Regions from separate parts of the Homo sapiens genome. Here region 1 is linked to region 2. The links are contacts of gene promoters, found by promoter capture Hi-C in blood cells and fetal thymus (Javierre and others, 2016). All regions are on one chromosome and are shown on one strand. Each heading gives the region's core, a stretch centred on a gene start or on the middle of the fragment in contact. The rest is flanking DNA. Distances are from core to core; before and after follow the strand shown. Region 1 overlaps DCAF1 (DDB1 and CUL4 associated factor 1). Region 2 holds the start of C3orf18 (chromosome 3 open reading frame 18).

Evidence for each region. The method cuts DNA at HindIII sites, captures the fragments that hold promoters and counts their contacts. A CHiCAGO score of 5 or more calls a contact.
Region 1: a contact is called between a fragment that was not itself captured here and the fragment with the promoter of C3orf18 in region 2, in 4 of 17 cell types (total B cells, naive CD4 T cells, naive CD8 T cells and 1 more). The highest score is 7.2, in total B cells.

Annotation. Positions count from the first base shown.
Region 1 is chr3:51,427,417-51,432,606 of GRCh38, reverse strand. DCAF1 (DDB1 and CUL4 associated factor 1) reads left to right here. Exons shown (of 25, transcript NM_001387579.1): 11 at 2,395-2,574; 12 at 3,137-3,346; 13 at 5,066-5,190. Among named protein-coding and RNA genes, the nearest start is that of RBM15B, 39 kb to the right of the region's middle. The HindIII fragment of the contact is 709 bases long and covers 2,885-3,593 here.
Region 2 is chr3:50,565,914-50,570,933 of GRCh38, reverse strand. It overlaps C3orf18 (chromosome 3 open reading frame 18), which reads left to right and starts at 3,187. Exons shown (of 6, transcript NM_016210.5): 1 at 3,187-3,471; 2 at 4,840-4,928. It overlaps HEMK1 (HemK methyltransferase 1, mitochondrial release factors N(5)-glutamine), which reads right to left and starts at 1,412. Exons shown (of 11, transcript NM_016173.5): 1 at 1,360-1,412; 2 at 1-3. RefSeq lists an enhancer at 1,488-1,607 and a silencer at 3,046-3,555. The HindIII fragment of the contact is 20,682 bases long and covers 1-5,020 here.

The sequences.
Region 1 (5,190 bases), core at 1,990-4,489, 860 kb before region 2:
GGTGCCTGTAATCCCAGCTACTTGGGAGGCTGAGGCAGGATAATTGCTTGAACCCAGGAGGCGGAGGTTGCAGTGAGCCGAGACTGTGGCATTGCATTCCAGCCTGGGCTACAGAGCAAGACTCCGTTTAAAAAAAAAAAAACACACAACAGACCTAGTCTCTCACTGATTCATTCACACACACGTTTATATCGTATATAGGGGTGTATATGTTTGTGTATTTTTAGAGACAGGGTCTTGCCCTATTGCCCAAGTGCTCAGCCTGCCAGGTAGCTAGGACTACAGGCTTGTGCCACCATGCCTGGCTACTTTTTATACTTTTTTTTTTTTTTTTTTTTTACAGAATCTTGCTCTGTCTCCCAGGTTGGAGTGCAGTGGTGCCATCTTGGCTCACTGCAGCCTCCAACTCCCAGGTTCAAGCAATTCTTCTGCCTCAGCCTCCCAAGTAGCTGGGATTACAGGCGCCCACCACTGTGCCCAGCTAATTTTTGTATTTGTAGTAAAGACAGAGTTTCAGCACGTTGGCCAGGCTGGTCTCGAACTCCTGACTTTGTGATTCCCGCACCTTGGCCTCCCAAAGTGCTGGGATTACAGGCGTGAGCCACCATGCCCGGCCTTTTTTTTTTCTAATGACAGGGTCTCGCTCTGTTGTCCAGGCTGTAGGCTGTAGTGCAGTGGTGTGATCACAGCCCACTGTAGCCTTGACCTCCTGGGCTCAAGCCATCCTCCCACTTCAGCCTCCCAAGTAGCTGGGACCACAGACGTGCACCACCACACCTGGCTAATTTTTGTACTTCTTTTTTTTTTTTGTACTTTTTGTAGAGATTGGGTTTCACCATGTTGCCCAGGCTGGTCTCCGACGCCTGGACTCAAGTACTCCTCCCACCATGGCTTCCCAAAGTGCTGAGATTATAGGCATGGGCTACCACACTCAGCTGATGCTTGTTTTATATTAACAAATAGTTTGTTATGGAGATAATAAAACCATCCCAACTGTTCCTAGGGCTGCAGAGAGGTTTTCCATTTGGTTCTACTGTTTTTGTAGTTAAGACTCTTTCATATATAATCTTTTTTTTTTTTTTTTTTTGAGACGGAATCTTGCTCTGTCACCCAGACTGGAGTGCAGAGGCGGGATCTCAGCTCACTGCAACCTCTGCCCCCTGGGTTCAAGTGATTCTCCTGTCTCAGCCTCCTGAATAGCTGGGATCACAGGCACGTGCCACCATGCCTGGCTAATTTTTTTTTTTTTTCAGTAGAGACGGGGTTTTACCATGTTGGCTAGGCTGGTCCTGAACTCCTGACCTCAAGTGATCCACCCGCCTCAGCCTCCCAAAGTACTGGGATTACAGTCATAAGCCACCGTGCCTGGCCTTGTGATTTTTTAAAAAGTGTAAATGGGTTACACATACGTATGTGGTTTTTTGTTTTTGTTTTTGTTTTGAGGCAGGGTCTGGCTCTGTCGCCTATGCTGGAGTCCAGTGGCATGATCTTGGCTCACTGCAGCCTCGGCCTCCTGGGTTCAAACCATCCTCGCAAGTAGCTGGGACAACAAGGGCACACCACCACACCTGGCTAATTTTTGCGTGTTTTGTAGAGGCAGGGTTTTGCCATTTTGCCCAGGCTGTGGGTTATACATTTGAAAAGCGATGGGCTCCTGTGATCCCCTAGGAAAGCAAAGCTCTTGTTACTTCTATTTCTGGGACATTTTTCTAATATTCTTATTTGGTGTCTTTTCTGGTAGAGTGAAATGGGTAATTTCTTCTCGAGCTATGACATTATTTATCTTTGCTTATTAATAATATCAGTTTTAATTTGTTTTTATTTTGGTGTTTATGCAAGATAGGTAGTCTTTTGGGAGTAATAAACTAATCTATGTGTGTACATACAAAATTACTTATGGCTAAGATAGAGAAAAAAATATCAAGGAAACCTGGGGATGCTTTACAGTTTCATTTTCTGACCCATAGTAGACATCAAAATGTGTGTGAATTAACCAGAGAATGAATACCAAACTCCTAGACTTAGGATCAGAAATCTGAGCCACTTTTATCACATTTGGAGAAGTTCCTTACCTCTTCCTCTTCTTTTAAGTGAGAATCCTAATACCTGTATAATGGAGCCCTCGTGAGCATTAAATGATGTAAATATTTGTTGGCACTCAGTAAGTATAGGTTGTATTTAAATATTTATCTAAATTTAGGTCGTTTTCAGGTTTGGAATGGATCGTGTTCTAAAATTGCCTTTGTATTATTACCTAAACTTTGTACTAAGAGTGACTTGATTGGAGATGGTCATTGTATTCTGCAGATATCTATACTGGCAAATTTTCCATCCTGTTCAAGGGCTCCTTTGCCCACAATTTAAAAGCATTGTTTTATTTGTATTTTTTTGCAGGTTTGCATGCATCCCCACAATGTTCTGTCTGATGTGGTGAACTATACCCTGTGGTTAATGGAGTGTTCTCATGCTTCAGGATGCTGCCATGCTACCATGTTTTTTTCAATTTGCTTCTCATTTCGGGCCGTCTTGGAGCTCTTTGACCGCTATGATGGTCTTCGTCGTCTGGTGAACTTGGTGAGGTTCTTTCAGTGCTTTTCTCCCTAGGATTGAGGGTCCTGGTTGTCTTGGCTGCCCTTTAACGGCACACCCTTGAAGAAAGGAAGCTTCTGATTAGAGGAGTTTTGCTGCCATTCTTTTTGTGAAGTTTTTTTTTTTTCCCTTTCTTCACAAATTTCTCTTTTTCTTTAGTAGTTAGAGGACACTGTGCCGTTGTAGACTTGCCTTGGATATAGTAATCTTATAACGGGGATTGGCAGTTGATGATCTTGATCTTTGTAAAAGCAATAGTTTTATTCCTGTACATTTTTTAATATGATTAAAAGCTTGTTCATTTTTTGGTATGAGTTTAATGTTTTGCTTTCATATAGCTACTGTTAGCATGCTATATACATAGATATACATAAATATGCGTTGATATTTGTCAGTCTTGTTAAGCATAAAAGTTTACTGATACATAAGCAGAATATGTATGGAAAGTAAAAAAAGTTTACTAAAATATTTTCCCTTTTTTAAATATTTTTACTTAACTCTTCTTGCCTTTTCCCCTCTTTTGCCCCAATATTTTGCATCTTAATAGATCAGTACTTTGGAGATTCTAAATTTGGAAGATCAGGGTGCACTTCTGAGTGATGATGAAATATTTGCTAGCCGCCAAACTGGGAAACATACCTGCATGGCCTTGCGCAAATACTTTGAGGCTCACCTGGCCATTAAATTGGAACAAGTGAAGCAGTCACTTCAGAGGACTGAGGGTGGCATTCTTGTCCACCCACAACCCCCGTACAAGGTGAGAGGACCTTGCCTTGAAAGGGAAAGTTCTGTTAGCCCTCTCTGTAGCATCTCAGTCCTGAAACTCACATTCAGATCAGTGGACTCTGTGCTATGTCCATTGTTGGAGTATACTTCCCTGTATGAAGGCAGAACAATTGAAAAATGGATGTAATAGGTGAATTTCAGGGAATTATTTTGCTTCCAGTTGTAAGTTGCTGGGATTCTAGAACTAAAAGATTAACTGAAGTGTGTATAAAAAAGCTTTCTTTTTTTCTTTTTGAGATACGTCTCCCTCTGTCACCCAGGCTGGAGTGCAGTGATGTGACCACACCTCATTGCAACATTAACCTCCCAGGTTCAGGTGATCCTCCCACCTCAACCTCCTGAGTAGTTGGGGGACTATAGGCACACACCACCACACCCAGCTAATTTTTAAATTTTTTTGTGGAGATGGGGGTCTCACTATGTTGTCCTGGCTGGTCTTGGAACTCCTGGACTCAAGCAGTCCTCCCACCTCGACCTCCCAAAGTGCTAGAATTACAGGTGTGAGCCACTGTACCTGGCAAAGAGCTTTTTTGTATGAAAAGTACTAGATGATTTGCCTTCTGTGCAGAATTTCTTTTCTGAAAATGTGTTTATAACTCCACTTCACTATCATTGTGGAATTTGATATGTTTTGGGATAATGACGAGTAGCTGCATGTTTTTTAAAAAATCACCAGCAGATTTCTTGAGACCAGCCTGGGCAACAATAGTGAGACCCTGTCTTTACAAAAATTTTAAAAATTGGCTGGGCCCTGTGGTGTGCATCTGTAGTTCTAGCTACTTGGGAGGCAGAGGTGGGAGGATCATTTGAACCCAGGAGTTCAAGACTGCAGTGAGCTACGATCATATCACTGCACTCCAGTCTGGGCAGAGACTGTCTCAAAAAAAAAAAAAAAAAAAAGGGCATGGTGGTACACCTGTGTCAGCTACTTGGGAGGCTGAGATGGGAGAGTCACTCGAGTCTGGGGGTTTGAGGCCGCACGTGATCGGGCTATGGCACTCCAGTCTGGGCAACAGAGTGAGAACCAGTCTCAAGAAAAAAAAAAGTCACAAATTGAAATCAGTCACATGATGCTTCTTTCTCTTAAGCTGTAACTTATATGCACAAAGGAAACTTTTGTTATCTTTTTGGACAAATCATATTGTGAGTCTAGTTATAAATAAGATAAAAGATTAAGCAATCTATGGTCATTACTTCACATATGGGCTTTTGACTCAAGAATTGTGGAATTTGAAAGGTATTATTATTTAATTTATAATTAAAACCTTGGCCAAGCATGGTGGCTCATGCCTGTAATTCCAGCACTTGAGGAGGCTGAGGTGGGAGGATCGCTTGAGTCTAGGAGTTCAGGGCTGCAGTGAGCTATGATCATGCCACTGCACTCCAGCATGGGCAACAAAATGAGACCCTGTCTCTACAAAAAATAAAATAATTAGCTGGGTGTGGTGGCATGTGCCTGTGGTTCTAGCTACTTGGGATGCTGAGACAGGAGGGCAGCTTGAGCCTGGGAGATTGAGGCTACAGTGAGCCGTGATCAAGCCACTGCCCTCCAGCCTGGGCAGCAAAGTGAGACCCTGTCTTGAAATAAGTAAATAAAATAAAATCTCTTGGCCAGTGAGCTGTGCTCAAGGAGGTAGTAGGCAGATGTAGAGTTATATATAATAATAATACTATATATCTCTCCTTATAGGCATGCTCATATACTCATGAACAGATTGTGGAAATGATGGAATTTTTGATAGAATATGGCCCAGCGCAGCTATATTGGGAACCAGCTGAAGTTTTCCTCAAACTTTCTTGTGTGCAACTCTTGTT
Region 2 (5,020 bases), core at 1,938-4,437:
ACCCTGGGAGTGAGAGGAACCAGGAAAGCAGGTGAGCCTTGTATGACACCCCCCCTTCTACCAATACATTGCCTGAGAATAGTTGTGCTCTTGCTCTGACACCCCCTTGACTCCATTTAGAGCCTTACCCACCTATTTGATCATTCTTGTCTTGGCCACTTACGTTTTCTTCACATTTTTAGCTGGAGTGGGCTGAGCCCATAGCTCAGTCTCTGCTAATAAACGGGTTGGTGGTAGGTTAGGGCACATATGTGGGGACAGGACAGATCTGTGTCTAACCTAGCGTGTGTGATCTTGAGCAAGTCATTATTTCTGATTTTCACTTTCTTAATCCATAAGATGGGGGAAAATCACACCAAACCCATGGCAAGCAATGCATTAGTCTATGAATATCCAAGGCCTGGGAGGCAGCTCAACACACAGCAGGGACCAGATGTTACATGATCTTAACTGATGTTACAAGAGGCAGATGATTGCCTTTAATTGGGAGCTTTGAATCTGACATTGTGTGTGTACTGTCATGGATGTACATGCTGAAAATTTCCTCCTAATTTAACCTATAATCCGGGACATCAGCGTAAACCACCAACTAAAAAATTTACAATTGTATATTTAAAGAGGTCACAAGCAAGTTTAACTGAAGGTTTAAAATCAGCGGTCCCCTTTGCTTCCAGATAAAAGTCCAAACTAGCGTTTATTAAGCACCTGCTAAGTGCCACATCTTCAGATACAAGTAGGGTCAGAGAAGGGAAGCGACTTGCCCAGCGTCACTCAGGTAGAAACTGTCCCAGGCAAGCTGGGCACGGTGGCTCACGCCTGTAATCCCAGCACTCTGGGAGGCCGAGGTGGGCGGATCACGAGGTCAGGAGTTCGAGACCAGCCTGGCCAGCATGGTGAAACCCTGTCTCTACTAAAAATACAAAAAATTGGCCGGGCATACTGACGCGCACCTGTAGTCCCAGCTACTTGGGAGGCTGAGGCAGGAGAACTGCTTGAACCCAGTTCAAGCAGGCGGAAGTTGCAGCGAGCCGCGGTCATGCCACTGCACTCCAGCCTGGGTGCCAGAGAGAGACTCCGTCTCAAAAAAAAGAAAAAAAAGACTGTCCCAGGCAAGACACGAACCCGAGTCCACCAGACTCCAGAAGCGGCTCTTGCACCAGTGCGCCGTCCCAGGAGCCAAGGCCCGAAGTCAGAAGTGTAAACTCCCTCACAGCTACGCACCGCATTGTTAACGACCCAGATGAGGCCCCCTCTCTCCAACCCTGTTTCCCCATCTGCACTATGGAGAATGGTACCGGCCAGGTCTCCAGGCGGTTGCAGTCGAAACACCCCGTTCCGATCCCCACCTCCCATGCATACCTGCCTGAAAGGCTGCCCCACCCACCCACCAGCCGGAGAAGCTGCCCCGAACTGGACGCCCGGACGTGCGTGGCCCGTCGCGCGCTCCCTCGGACGCCCCGCTTCCGGGGTCGGCGCCTTTAAGAAAAGGCTCGGGCGGACGCCGTAGCCCAGCTTCAGTGTTCCTATCGCTGGTGGGTTCCTCCCAGGAGACCCCTGCGGATGGGTGGGGAGGCTGTGAATTCCACTCCCTCTACGCTCGCAGGCCTGCATACAGGAAAGTGCGGGGATGTGTGTGGGGTTGACCCTTGGGGGCCCGGACCTGCCGGTCTTCCTTAAAATCACAGCAGGGATTTGGCTCCAGCCCAAGGGGATTGCTCCGAGCTGGCGTTTAGGAACCAGGCCGGGAGGTGTGTGGGCGGAGCCCAGTAGCCTGCCGGAAAGGGGGCGTGTCACCAGAGGGCCCGGGTGTTCCGGCGGGGACCAGATGTCCGGGGGCGTGGTCTATCTTAGCCTGGGGGCCGGGTGGAGCTGTGCATGGGCGGGTTCCAGTGTTGAAGGCTGGTCCAACTTTGGGGTCCAGTCCCAGTGTCGTGACCCTACCGAGGTCAGTGGCCCGAGCCCACCAGGGGGTCGGCCGACTGGCGGCCAGACCCCAGGGGCCGCTCTTTTACCGATTCGAATCTTGACTCTATTGGCAACTCCTCCAGGTGTTGGGACCTCTGGACCTCAGTTGCGCCTTCTATAAAATACTCGGCAGCGTCTCGCAAAGTGTGTCTTGTCAACATCTCCCCACCAGAAAGTACTGTTAACTAGAACACTGTTAACTACTTTTTTTTTCTTTTTTTCTTTTTTTTTTTTTTTTTTTTTGAGACGGAGTTTTGCTCTTGTTGCGCAGGCTGAAGTACAATGGCGCGATCTCTGCTCACTGCAACCTCGGCCTCCGGGTTCAAGCCATTCTCCTGCCTCAGCCTCCCAAGTAGCTGGGATTACAGGCGTGAGCCAACACGACCGGCTAATTCTGTATTTTTAATAGAGACAGGGTTTCACCATGTTGGTCAGGCTGGTCTCGAACTCCTGACTTCAGGTGATCCATCGCCTCGGCCTCTCAAAGTGCTGGGATTACAGGAGTGAGCCACCACGCCCGGCCTTAAACTGCTATTAAACATGCTGTTTCCCTGCCTCCTTCCCAGACCGGGAGACACAGGGGCGTTTGCATTTGTACCAGGCTACCCGGTGACTCCCATAAACTACTTTGAAAACCGGCGGATCAGGAGTATCTGAGGGCTCCTTCCCTGAGCTGATCATGCCGTGGATGGAAGCTATTGTGAGGGTATATGTAGACTTGCCTGGGTCGGGGTGCCCAATAATAAATCCACCCCACTCTCAACTTCTGTAGACGAAGATTCCCCATCTTCGTCTAGAACCCTCACACCAGAGGACCCGTCTGAGTAGAAAGCCAAGGTTCAGGAAGGGAAAAGCAGTTTCTTCAAGGTCACAAAGTCAGCCAGAGTTCAGTGCAGGCCCAAGGACTCCCAGTCCAGTGCTCTCCCCAAGTCTCCTCTGTACATCCATCCGCGTTTTGGGGGCTTGAGTCTGTCCTGGCACGGGTAGCTGGCAGGGGTCCCGAGTTCTGGCCCGGAAGGGCCTGGCCACCCACTGTCCTCCGCCCAACTTCGGCGCAGGCCACGGGGTGAGGGTAGTCTCTAAAAACTGCGACCAGGTTCTAGGCTCCCTCTGGGGGTGGAGCCAGACCCGAGCGACAAGCGAACGGTCCAATTCTGGGCGGGCTCTAGGCCCGACAGCCAATCGGAGGCCGGGGGCGCGGAGCGTGCAGGGAGGCAAGGCGCTGTAGCTTCGGGGATCCCCCGAGGCTGCTCGGCCCGGCCCCACCTCCGCCGTGGGTCCCGGCCCTACCCACCCTAGCTCAGGCCGGCAGAGCCAGCGCTCGCGGATGCGGCTGGTGCGCAGTAGCGGGCCTGGCCAGCGGCTCGGGGCTTGCAGGGAGGGCGGATCTCGGGTCGGACCCGCAGCCCCAGACGCCGGGCTTGGGGGTTCCCCCCGCCCCGGCCTCCTGCCAGTCACTACCACCCCTAGCCTCTCCAACTGAGCTCGGCGCCGGGAGAGGATTAAGTAAGTGCTGAGGTCACTGCTCCTGTGCAAGAAGGGAGGCATCACAGGGTCGCGGAGGCGGGCATGGGGATTGGGGCAGGGAGGACTGAGAGACCTGGTGGAGAACAGCATGCGGGTTCTCGAAGGTCGCGGTGCCGACCCCTTTTACCCCGGTTTCCTTCCCTTCCCCTTTGGACCCTGAGGCAGGCCTGGAAAGTGGTCAGTAGGGCCTCTTCTCTCCTTTGGGAGGCGATGTTAACAGAGCCCCAGGGCACGAGTTAAGGGTTTGGCCCAAGGTCACGCCCGGGATCAGTTGCAAAGCCAAGAAAAGAACCCGGGACTTCCTATGTGCCCAGATGTGCCCAGCCTAGCTGGAGGGAGAAGGCAAAGAGGGATGAGCCTTTCTACCCCATAACCCTCTGCCAGCCTTGCCCCTTCCTCAGGGACCATCAGAGGTGTTTACACATCTCACACACGCCCATGCATCTGCACAGGGAGGCAACCCCACTAATGCCCATGAACCAGCACAGGGGGATGTATGCACCCACGAGCTAGGTATCCCTCCTCTCCCTAGGCCGTCCCATCTGCAGCTTGGCTGGCACCTCTTCCCACCCCACCTTAACCAGGGCCCTCTGCACTGGGCAAATCTCTCACCCTCTGCTTCCAGGGGAGGAGGGTAAAGGAAGAGAAGGCACCCACACTGGGAGCTCCATTCCTGCCTCGCCTTTCTCCTTGACCCTAGCAGCCCCTCTATTGTTGGTGGGTGGGGAGGGCAGTCCAATGTCCCCGAGAGCCTGCGGAGAAGCCCCGCCAGAGAACCAGAGCCTCTCTCTCCTTCTTGTCTTCTGGTCTTTCCACATCAGCCTCCACCCACACTCCAAGCATAGTCTGGACCATACAGTGGACTGGGTCCAGGGGCTCCCTTGGCTCCCCTTTGTGACTGGGTTGGCCATGGGGAGAAAATCTAACATGTAGTGGATGCTTACTGTGGATGGGGGTTGTGCTGAGCTAAGTCTTTCTTCGACACCTGTTTGTTCTGCCATTTCTGTAACCCCATGACCCTGTGGGGATGTTCTCAATATCCCCACCTTAGACTCAGGAAAACGGAGACACAGAGAGGTGGAGTGACTTTCTAGGGATCACTAGTTAAGCAGCTGAGCTAGGTTTCAAAGACAGGCCTGTCTGACTCTTGGGCAAGTGTTTCCCTCCAGGAAAGGAAAAAGCTGTGGTATTTTTTCCCCCAAGCAGGATGAGGGATGTGGGAGGCAGGGAATGAGGAGGTGGATATGGGGAGGTGGGGGATATGGGGACGCAGGTTGAGGGGAGTTTTTGATCAGGGGAGGGAGACTTTTTCTTTCAAACATCCCCGCTGCCTTTCATATCTTCCAGGTTTGATCACTATGATCATCTCACCCACAGACAGAGGATGCAGGGCTTCATTTTTGTTCCCAAAAACAGGGGCACCGTAGATACGTAAAGTATGTGTCCTAATGTCTCCTGAACTTACCCTCATTCTTGCCCTCAAACCTTTACCTCCCCAGTGCTTTCAGAACCTAGAGAGACTTCATCT